Regions from separate parts of the Homo sapiens genome. Here all the other regions are linked to region 1. Evidence: promoter capture Hi-C in 16 types of primary human blood cells and fetal thymus (Javierre and others, 2016). All regions are on one chromosome and are shown on one strand. The core of a region is centred on a gene start or on the middle of the fragment in contact, and the rest is flanking DNA. Distances in the headings are between cores, read along the strand shown.

Region 1 (2,709 bases), core at 93-2,592:
GCTTTATTTGTGTGTTTTGTCCAATTATTTGTTCAAAACGCCAAGGACCTAGCCAACTACCCTCAACTGTTAACAGCTGCACACACATATCAAGGCACACCAGCTTCACCCTGCCTGGAGCTTCTTCCCATGCCTAGTTTTCTCTTACAATTCCGGTCTCTGCTCAATTATCACTTCTAAAAGAGGACTTTATAGAGACCACCATGTGTAAAACAGCTTTTCTACATGCCCCCGCCAGCTAATTTTTATTAGAGTACTTATATTATTTGAAATAATATTTTTACATGCCTCCATCCCCTGGAAAATGAGCTGAGTGAGGGATATTGTTGGAGTATCCCCAGTACCAGGCACACAGTAGGCATTCAATAAATAGTTTTTGAATGATTACATTGTCTACGGAATTCTAACATGTATGGGTGAAACAAAGACTCTCACATGCTGTGAGAAGAAAACAAAAACTGGGTTGGCAGAGGCCTTGAATATGAGGAAGTGGCCTTTCCGGATAAAGAAACTAAGACTCGGCCGGGCGTGGTGGCTCAGGCCTGTAATCTCAGCACTTTGGGAGGCCGAGGCGGACGGATCACCTGAGATCAGGAGTTCGAGACCAGCCTGGCCAACACGGCGAAACCCCGTCTCTACTAAAAATACAAAAAAAAAAAAAAAAAAAAAAAATTAGCCGGGCGTGGTGGCGGAGGCCTGTAATTCCAGCTGTTCGGGAGGCTGAGGCAGGAGAATCGCTTGAACCCGGGAGGAAGAAAGAAAGAGGGAATGAGGGAAGGCGGGAAAGAGGGAAAGAAGAAAAGAAAAGAAAGGAAAGAGAAGAGGGGCGGGGCGGGGCAGGGCAGGGCAGGGCAGGGCAGGGCAAAAAAAGACTCAGTGCAGGAAAGGACTTGCCCAAGGTAATCTAGTACGTGGAAAAGCGGAGGGCAGGAGCCTGTGCCGTGCAAGAGCTCCGGGGAGCCAACACCGAGCGGCCCTTTTGAGAGGGTCCCAGCCCCTGAGATGCGGGAGCCCGCAAGAGGGAACCTCTTGTCTGAAGAGGTTGCTGCGCTCTGGAGTCGTGCTCTGGGACAGATGGGCAAGCTCCGCTCTTGGGGCCGGAAGCGTGTAGCGTCTCCACCCGGGCTCCAATCCCCAGCCTCGCACTCAGCACCAGGCAGAGTTCAGCCTCCCGCCGCAAGCTCCCTTCCGCCGCTCCCGGCGAGCACGCAGGTCTGGCTGTCCGTTGGGCTAGAGCTTAAAAGCCCAACACGGGCGAAAAAGACGCGGTCTCAGTTAACGGGGACGCTTTAGAGAAACGCACTCGCCTCTCCTGTTCCGGTTGGGTCGGCGCGGGCTTCTCAGGCGCCACGTGGGATTCGGCCCGGGTGCTCTTGTGAGCTGCTGCTCCTGCGGTTGGTGAGATTACCTGGGTCTAGAGTGCGGAGCTGCTCCGTGGCCACGAGGACGTCACCATGGTGGGCCCCCTCCTGCTCCCCCGAACCGCTCGGTTGGTTCCCCGGAAGGCTCTTGTTGAGCAGGCAGAGAGGGAGGGTGCGGTTTCGGGAACCTAGGAGAGGGGAGGATGCAAAGTGTTTATTTTCAGGGAGTGTGCGGGGTGCGGGGCGAAGCCTCTGGGAGGCGAGTCCCAGGCCCAACGCCTGGACCTTAGAGTTCCGCGTCCGAGTGCTGAAGTGCTCACACGTCGCCTTGCTCCTCTTTGCCTTGTGCCTAACTTCTCGCTAGTCACTACTTCCTGGGGGAAACCCGGCACCTTTCCATTGTAACGCATCGAGGAGTTTGGCAAAACTTCTGAGATCGCTGGCCCTACACACCTCTGCCTCTCTGGCCTGGGTAGACTCAGTATGTGGGCTTAGTCGCCTCTTCCTCGGCGTCCGTTCACCTCTCGTTAGTGCCCTGAATCCTGCCGTTACGCCCCCATTCGCTCCAGGGCACTGAAGCAGTTTTGTTGTTTTTATTAAAAACTGAGTAGATACAAAAGAGTGTTACTAAAGCACATTTCAAGTGTAAAGATGAACAGTTTCAGGAATTCTCGTTTACCCATTTTGTAGTTTTAAGAAATAAAACATAGCCTTTGAAAGCCCTGTGTTACCTTCTTTGAACTTTCAGGAAACCTTAAGAAGCAAACATTATCTAAGTTTTGTATTTATAATTTCACTACTTTTCTTTATAGTTACTACATATATTTGTATTTTGAAACAGTATGTTGTTTCTTGCCTATTTTTTACGTAATCGTTGTGTTCTTGAGAGTAATTCTTGCATAGAAACATGCTTTATAAATTTTTTTCAATTAATTTTTAATAAAAGCAAAATTTTAAAAGTTTATAATCTGGTCAGAAGTTACGATATTGTGTCCACAATGTGGCCTCTTTGTTTCTTTTCATTTTTTTCTCTTTTCATTGTATGCCATTTTTGTCTTACAGTCTGGTTCTTTCGTTGTTTCGCGAGTTTTTTGTGCTTTATTTTGATCCACTGCTGACGCATATTTTGTACTTTAGATTGTACACATTTGTGTAAATTCAGTGTTTGCTTGTCACTTTGCTTGTGGGATTTCCAACTCTTTATAGTGTTAGTTTTTTTCCCCTTTTCAGAGTGGAATATGAAAGCAATTACATCTCATTGTGTTTGAGTGATTGGGGAGATAGATTGGTATTTGACTGTAGTTGTCCTTGACTATCAGAGCTTCACTTTTTATCAGGCTGTATAGTA
Region 2 (2,709 bases), core at 127-2,626, 1.3 Mb after region 1:
AAGCTGTTTTGGTCAAATAGCTGTCCAGCCTGAATTCCTCTAGTGATGAGGAACTCACTATCATTGGAGGCATGGATTGCCCTATATGTTTTTTTAAATGAGGCCTGACCGGCAACCAGACCATTGGCAGACCATTGAGTTAAAATGTGGTGGGTGTGGCAGGGCACAGTAGCTCACACCTGTAACCTCAGCACTTTGGGAGGCCGAGGCGGGCAGATCATGAGGTCAAGAGATCAAGACCATCCTGGCCAACATGGTGAAATCCTGTCTCTACTAAAAATACAAAAATTAGCTGAGCGTGGTGGCGTGTGCCTGTAGTCCCAGCTACTCGGGAGGCTGAGGCAGGAGAATTGCTCGAACCTGGGAGGCGGAGGTTGCAGTGAGCCAAGATCGCGCCACTGCACTACAGCCTGGCGACAGAGCGAGACTCCATCTCAAAAAAAAAAAAAGAAAAAAATAGAAAAAAATGTGGTGGGTGCTGTTGTTGCCTTACTGGAATCCAGTCAACCTAATTCAAAATATTGCCTTCAGCTTGGTTACTCCACTTTAGAGGGATTTGGAAGTAAAGGAGAGAAATCAAAAGGGACAAAGGACACAGAATTATGTCATAAGAAGAATATTTGTCTAGACAAAGGAAAGAAAGCCCAGGCAACATGACAAATTCCTGGTCTTCAAATATTTGAGGATCCCTCTCATAAAAGGAGAACTTTTTAGTTCTGTATTTAGGAATCACATGGTAATAGTTAAAAAGAACAGAATTTTAGCTGATATAGAGTTTTCTAAAGAGCAGGGTTATCCAGAGATTAAACAGATTGCCTCCAATGACAGTGAGTTCCTCATCACTAGAGGAATTCAGGCTGGCCATCTATTTCACCAAAACAGTTTAGGGAAAATTCAATCATTGTATGGTGTCTGGACAAGGTGATTTTTGATTTTCTTTCCAAACCTGAAATTTTATTTGGAGGAAAGTTCTCAAGGACAAGATGGCTTTTTGTTCAGAGTTTGACCAGAAGAAGACTTGAGACATGGAGTTGCCCAAAGAAACAGAGGAAGGCAACATGATAGAGGATCCATCCAAAAAGAAAGATTGAGAAAATCAAAGAGACATGTAGCAGGTTGAAATGTCAAGTAGGAACAGCATTGACAGGAGCTGGGACACATCATTTGTCATTCAGCAAGCGTGATTTGCCAAGTACTTGGTGTCAGGGAGTAAATAAGAAAAACAGTTTTCTGCCTGTATGAGCCTTCAAGGTGAATACATAATTCAGAAACCATATGCAGAGACTAATGAGCGTTGTTGGCATTTCACAGATGGACGGGATAATTCAAGGCTTTGTTTAGTAGACAGGATTTACACCATGACAGAACCACCCTCCTACAGATAAAACGGAAAAAAGTGCCACTGGTTTCAGATTATTTAAATTAGATAAGCATTCAATGCAGCAGGTGAGTCTTGTTCAGAATTTTTAAAGAAGGAAGGGATACTTTGTCTCAGAAAAAAAAAAAAAAAAAAGGCAGATAAATCCAGGAAGCAACAGAAGTGGCATGCACGTTGGTTAGTAGCCTTTAGACTTTTTCCACAAGGCCTTTGAAGGCAAGGGGGGAGTGGGCACTGCAGTATCTCACAGATTTTTTTCAGCCCATAGTTTTCTAATGTAGCAGGCTATAAGAATTCAAAACACTAAATTCCCACTGCCCAGAAAAGTGCATTTACTTCCTGTAAATAAGCCCTTTATTTTTACTCTGGCAGATTTTTCTTTAGATGAAGGCAGTCATTTTACCTAGTCCCCTTGGCCCTTGATGCATGCACACAGCATCTACAATAGGAAGGAGACTCAATAAGAAGAGCATGTTCCATGCTGTCCCCGAGCAATCATAACAGCACTCAAGGGAGCCGCGAGAGAATGAACGGATGGTGCACAAAGAGAGCAGTGAGCTCTGTCAGCAGCCATGAGACAGAAAAATAAAGTAACAAAGGAAAAGAAACACATCTCCCCCGTGAGGGCAATAACAGCAGCAAGAAAAACCATCAATCCCAACCATGCTGCCTGTTTTATGGAAACCTTAAAGCCATTTTCAAAATATACTTCTTGTCCTCTGGGTGGGATTTTCTCAAGTAATAGAGTGCTTGATGCCGCTGAGATTTCCAAATACATCTTCAATCCAGAGTTTCCATTCACAGCTGTGAAATTCAGAGTTTTGCATCAACTTGCCTTCTTCGGTGCTGCTTGCATCCACTCGTTTATGGTCACTCAGTGAATACTTATGGGAAAATGTACTATATGCCCGTCATTTTTCTAAGCCCTATAGGTACGGAGATAAACAAAGCAGACTGCTTTCATAGAACTTTAATGGGGAAAGACAGACAAACAATAACAAAAAAATGTAGCCAGGCACGGTGGCTCACGTCTGTAATCCCAGCACTTTGGGAGGCTGAGGCAGGCGGATCACGAGGTCAGGAAATTGAGATCATCCTGGCCAACATGGTGAAACCCCATCTCTACTAAAAATACAAAAAATTAGCCAGGCGTGGTGGCACACACCTGTAGTCCCAGCTACTCGGGGGACTGAGGCAGGAGAATCGCTTGAACCCGGGAAGCGGAGGTTGTAGTGAGCTGAGATCGTGCCACTGCACTCCAGCCTGGTGACAGAGTGAGACTCCATCTCAAAAAAAAAAAAAAGAAGAAAAATGCAATGGAGAATAGCTGT
Region 3 (2,709 bases), core at 119-2,618, 1.2 Mb after region 1:
AATCCCAGCTGATTGGGAGTCTGAGGCATGAGAATCACTTGAACCTGGGAAGCAGAGGTTGCAGTAACCGAGGTTGCACCACTGTACTCCAGCCTGGGCAACAGAGCAAGACTCTGTCTCAACAACAACATCAACAACAAAACCAACGCATTGTATTTGAAGAAGAGAAGAAATTTCATCAAAATGCAAAATTATGGATTGTGATTGTTGAAAAGTGAAGTTAGGTAGCTATGACTGCAATGCAGACAGAGAGCACAGTAAGAATAGCTGGTCCTATGCAATAGGCACACCTTGAATTGCCTGCAACCAAAAGGCAAGAAAAACAAACAGAAGATACAACAGATTGAGTGACTGAGCTATTGCTTATTTCAGAATTCTTAATAATGTGTGGCAAAGTGGTATCTTGCTGCTGTAATCTTTTGTTTTGTTGTGTTGTTGAATCTGGCATTTCAGGATCAACATCAGGTTCTTAAAAGCCAAAGTCAGTTCACCTTTTTGTGCCTCCCATCGTTCTTTTGAGTTATGTAAGATAGATTATTCATTTCTCCTCGCTGATAGAACCATAGTTGTGTCCTATACTTGGAGAAGCTGGAAAATAGCTCACCAACATAATTGCAGTATTTCTTAGTATAATATTATGTTAGGCAGAAAAACATTAAGGAACATTTGTTTTTGTCACATCTCTATTATCTCATAATTAGTAAGGCAAGATGAAATGTCAATTTTTAATCCTTTTTTATGGATTTGTATTCCTATAATATATGAAAATCTCTGAGGAAGAGATGAAGCTCTGCATTATTTTTTCTATGTGGGAGGGTTTTTATAGGAGGATTAATTCTGAGGTAGTATAGTAGGTGGTTAAAGGGAAATACATGCACTTATTAACAAATCAGAGTTTGTTTACAACTAATTGAATTTAAAAATTATATCAATACTTATATCGCTTGCCAAGCAGTATGATTTAAGAGTATAGGAAACAAATAAGAGTACAAAGGTATCAATTTGGTTAAAATTTACCATTTTATAAGACTAAGAAATAATGTAGAAAAAAACTCTTTCCTAATTAAGTGTCTTTCGGTGGTGTTATGGCAAAACTGTAACTTTTTACAGCCTAACCTCTTGTAAAGCCTTTAATTAGTTACATGTAAAAAAAATTATCTACCTCTGGCTTATTGGATGGAAAACTATATCTATAAAATTGTAGACTTAAAGGTTCATGGAAATACATTAGGGTATCAAAAAGTGAAATGTATGAACTTTATGACAACTATGATATATTCAATAAAATAGCTTAATTGTTTTTTAAAAAAGGATTTTAATAGGGTTTGAGGTAAAACTCATGCCACTGCTAACTGATGAAGGTCGTATTCCATAAAAACCCTCCATCCTTTTTCTTATTGATGGATGGCTCCAAAAAATTCTGTCCCTCCACTTTCACTCATGTATTGTGTCCTCTGTGAGCAGCCATATTTGTTAAAGCTGAAATGTCATGATGATGGATCACAACCAGACCCTCTATTTGGGGCTAGATACCTGAGCCAATCTGTCATTATGTGCAAATTATCTTCTTGCTGGATCTGGAGAGATAAATAAGATGCAATTGCACATGGTTCTATATCCTGTTTTAACTAAACGAACGTATGGCCCAATAAGAATAGGGGTCAGACATCATGGGACTCAATGGAGCCTGTGATTCTGGAAGTAAGCCAGCTAAGGCCCCTCTGAGCCTGCTCCTGCTTTCCTCTGGATTTTTGTATGCACAATGATACCTAAAAAACACTGAACACCGTTTGACTTAAATTCTATTTCATATTTGTTCACGTCATGCTTGAACTCTTAGCCTGGTCCTTATCTCTTCAAATTTGCCCGCATCTAACTCCAAAGATGATTCTTTGAGTTCATTTCAGACAATACCATTTTAGTCTCCAGCAGGAGCCCTGGGGAAACTCACCATGTCTAATTTATCTTCAGTGAATATCAAATCATATTCACCACATAAAAGTTAGGATGGCTTTATCAGTTTTATTAAAGCTGTAAATTTTCCTTTTAAAACCTGCCAAAGCCTATGCTTCTAGAATCCTCTAACAACAAATTAACTTTTTTTCCCTTCTTTCTCTGCTTAGTCCTTCAGCCAGTCTGACCAATGGGATACTCCCCATAGAGCATGTGTGAAAATTGTCCTGTAATTCAAGACAGCAGAGTGGTATTTCTGTTTTTCTACCTGGATTCACACTTGGCGCAGTGCTGTAGCTCAGAAAGAAAAACTGCACATCTAAGAACCACAGTTCCAGGCAAGGTGTTGGAGGCTTTGGTCTTACAGACATGAAAAAGCTGCTTTGAACCGCTTGACGTTTTCTACTCAGGAACCCCAAACTTGTGCCTACTGTTCTCGCTCCTTGTTAAGGCCTCCTTCTAAAGCCTCTGAGTAACATGATCTCAGCCCTCCCGAGCCTAGAGCCTAGATTCCCCCATTGCCTCACTCCTCCCACTGCCCTCACTATGCCTTGTGGGAGCCTCTCCAGGGGACACTATCTCCTGAATGCAGAATGTACCTTCACATCTTTCAACTTTTGCTCTGAATATCCCATCCGACTACATTCTCTTTGTCTTCTTTATCATCTGTTGAAATCCTATAGATCTTTTAGGGACCAGGCTGAATTCACAGGCTTCATTCTCCTCCAATGCATCTAATCACCTTTCCTCCTTTCT
Region 4 (2,709 bases), core at 148-2,647, 1.0 Mb before region 1:
AGACTTGTTGAATGTCTTTGACCAAAATGCTGATAGTGATATGGACAATAAAATTCAACCTGAGGTGGTCTCAGATGGGGTTGAGGAACTTGTTGGGAACTAAAGTAAAGGTCACTCTTGCTATGTAAAGATGCTGGCAGAATTTTGCTCCTGGCCTAGAGATCTGTGGAACTTTGAACTTGAGAGAGATGATTTGGGGTACCTGGTGGAATAAATTTCTAAGTGGCAAAGCATTTGAGAGGTGATAGATCATAAAAGTTTGGAAAATTTGCAGCCTGACAATGCAGTAAAAAAGAAAAAAAAACATTTTTTAGGAAGAAATTCAAGCATGTTGCCAAAATTTGCATAAGTAACGAGCAGTCAAATGCTAATCACCAAGGTAACAGGGAAAACATCTCCAGGTTGTGTCAGAGACCTTTGTGGCAGCCCCTTTCATCACAGGCCTGAAGGCCTAAGAGGGAGAAATGGTTTCATGGGCTCAGCCCAGGGCCCCCCTGCTTTATGCAGCCTCCAAACACGGTGCCCTGCATCCCAGCCTGCTTCAGCTCCCAGCCATGAATAAAAGGGGCCAACATACAGCTCAGGCTATTGACTCAGAGGGTGCAAGCCCCAAGCCTTGGTGGGTTATGTGTGGTGTTGGGCCTTTGGGTGCACAGAAGTCAAGAATGGAGGTTTGGGAACCTCCACCCAGATTTCAGAGTATATATGGAAACACTTGGATGTCCAGGCAGACGTTTGCTGCAGGGGTGGGGCTTTCATGGAGAACCTCTGCTAGGGCAGTATAGAAGGGAAATGTGGATGGAAGCCCCCAAACAGATTCCCAACTGGGGCACTGCCTAGCAGAGCTGTGAGAGGAGGTCACCAACCTCTAGACTCCAGAATGGTAGATCCATTGACAGCTTGAACCATCTGCCTGGAAAAGCCACAGACACTCAACACTAGCCCATGAAAGCAGCCAGGAGGGGAGTGATACCCTGCAAAGCCACAGGGGTGGAGCTTCTCAAGGCCATGGGAGTCTATCTCTTCCATCAGCGTGACCTGGATGTGAGAAATGGAGTCAAAGGAAATCACGTTGGAACTTTAAGGTTTAATGACTGCCTTAATGGATTTTGAAGTTGCATGGGCCCTGTAGCCCCTTTGTTTTGGCCAATTTCTCCCATACGGAATGGCTGTATTTACCCAATGTCTGTACTCCCACTGTATCTGGGAAGTAAGTTACTGGTTTTTTGTTTTGTTTTGTTTTGTTTTTTACAGGCTCATAGGTGGAAGAAACTTGCTTTGTCTCAGATGAAACTTTGGACTTGGACTTCTGAGTAAATTTGGAATGAATTAAGACTTTGGGGGACTGTTGGGAAGGCATTATTGTGTTTCTGAAATGTGAGGACATAAAATTTGGGAGGGGCCGCAGTTGAATGATATGATTTGGTTGTGTTCTCACCCAAATCTCATGTTGAATTGTAGCTCCCATAATACCTACATATCGTGAGAGGGACCTGGTAGGAGGTAATTGAATCATGGGGGTGGGTCTTTCAGTGCTGTTCTTATGGTAGTGAATAAGTCTCATGAGATATGGTGGTGTTGTAAGGGACAGTTGCCTTGCACATACCCTCTTGTCTGTTTCCATGTAAGATGCTTGGCCGGGCACGGTGGCTCACATCTGTAATCCCAGCACTTTGGGAGGCCGAGGTGGGCAGATCACGAGGCCAGGAGATTGATAGCATCCTGGCTAACATGGTGCAACCCCAGCTCTCCTAAAAATCCAAAAAAAAAAAAAATTATCCGGACGTGGTGGCAGGCACCTTTAGTCCCAGCTACTTGGGAGGCTGAGGCAGGAGAATGGCATGAACCTGGGAGGCAGAGCTTGCAGTGAGCAGAGATCGCACCACTGCACCCCAGCGCTGGTGACAGAGCGAGACTCCATCTCAAAAAAAAAAAAAAAAAAGATGCTCCTCATTCACCTTCAGCCATCATTGTGAGGCCTCCCCAGCCATGTGGAACTGTGAGTCAATTAAACCTCTTTCCTTTATAAATGACCCAGTCTTGTGTATGTATATATTAGCAGCATGAGAACAGACTAATACATATATATAAATGTATAAAGAAATAATACATATATAATATACATATATTGTATATTACATATATTGTCATTCTATATTACATACTATATAGCATATATATTATATATAAAATATGTGTGTATTGTATATGTGTATATATACATATAATAGAATATTATTTAGCCTTTACAAAGAAGGAGATCCTGCCATTTATGACAACCTGGATGATCCAGGAAGACATTGTGCTAGATGAAATAAGCCAGAAATGGAAGGAAAACTACTTCCTGATCTCATTTGCATGTGGACTCCATAAAAGTTGGACTCACGGAAGCAAAGTAAAAAGGTGGTTAGCAGGGGACGGGAGGAAAGGGAAATGGGGCAGTGTTTGTCAAGGGTACAAGGTTGCAGTTATGTAGGACAAATAAGTCTAGATATGTAAGGTGCAGTGTGATGACTGCAATTAATAATACTGTATTGCATATTGAAATTTGCTAAGGAGTAGATTTTAGTTGCTCCCACCACACACACACACGCGCGCACACACACACACACACACACACACACACACATACACGTTAACTGTGTGAGGAGATGGATATGTTAATGTGCTTGACTGTAGTAATCATGTCTTTATAAAATAATTTTTAAT

What was found. Contacts are between HindIII fragments. The CHiCAGO score rates a contact against its expected background, and 5 or more counts as called.
Region 2: a fragment that was not itself captured here is called in contact with the fragment with the promoter of TMA16 in region 1 in 1 of 17 cell types (endothelial precursors); the score reaches 6.2 in endothelial precursors.
Region 3: a fragment that was not itself captured here is called in contact with the fragment with the promoter of TMA16 in region 1 in 8 of 17 cell types (naive B cells, naive CD8 T cells, total B cells and 5 more); the score reaches 14.9 in naive B cells.
Region 4: a fragment that was not itself captured here is called in contact with the fragment with the promoter of TMA16 in region 1 in 1 of 17 cell types (M2 macrophages); the score reaches 5.2 in M2 macrophages.

What each region holds. Positions count from the first base shown.
Region 1 is chr4:163,493,348-163,496,056 of GRCh38, forward strand. It overlaps TMA16 (translation machinery associated 16 homolog), which reads left to right and starts at 1,343. Exons shown (of 7, transcript NM_018352.3): 1 at 1,343-1,457. The coding sequence starts at 1,455. It overlaps LOC124900805 (a long non-coding RNA gene), which reads right to left and starts at 1,877. Exons shown (of 2, transcript XR_007058354.1): 1 at 1,815-1,877; 2 at 1-1,549. RefSeq lists enhancers at 1,234-2,136, 1,600-1,739, 1,770-1,919. The HindIII fragment of the contact is 17,381 bases long and covers 1-2,709 here.
Region 2 is chr4:164,764,130-164,766,838 of GRCh38, forward strand. All of the region lies in intron 1 of SMIM31 (small integral membrane protein 31), which reads left to right. Among named protein-coding and RNA genes, the nearest start is that of SMIM31, 11 kb to the left of the region's middle. The HindIII fragment of the contact is 3,677 bases long and covers 1-2,709 here.
Region 3 is chr4:164,726,360-164,729,068 of GRCh38, forward strand. It overlaps the pseudogene CHORDC1P3. Among named protein-coding and RNA genes, the nearest start is that of SMIM31, 26 kb to the right of the region's middle. RefSeq lists an enhancer at 1,276-1,445. The HindIII fragment of the contact is 5,791 bases long and covers 1-2,709 here.
Region 4 is chr4:162,492,746-162,495,454 of GRCh38, forward strand. No RefSeq gene overlaps it. Among named protein-coding and RNA genes, the nearest start is that of FSTL5, 330 kb to the left of the region's middle. The HindIII fragment of the contact is 9,946 bases long and covers 1-2,709 here.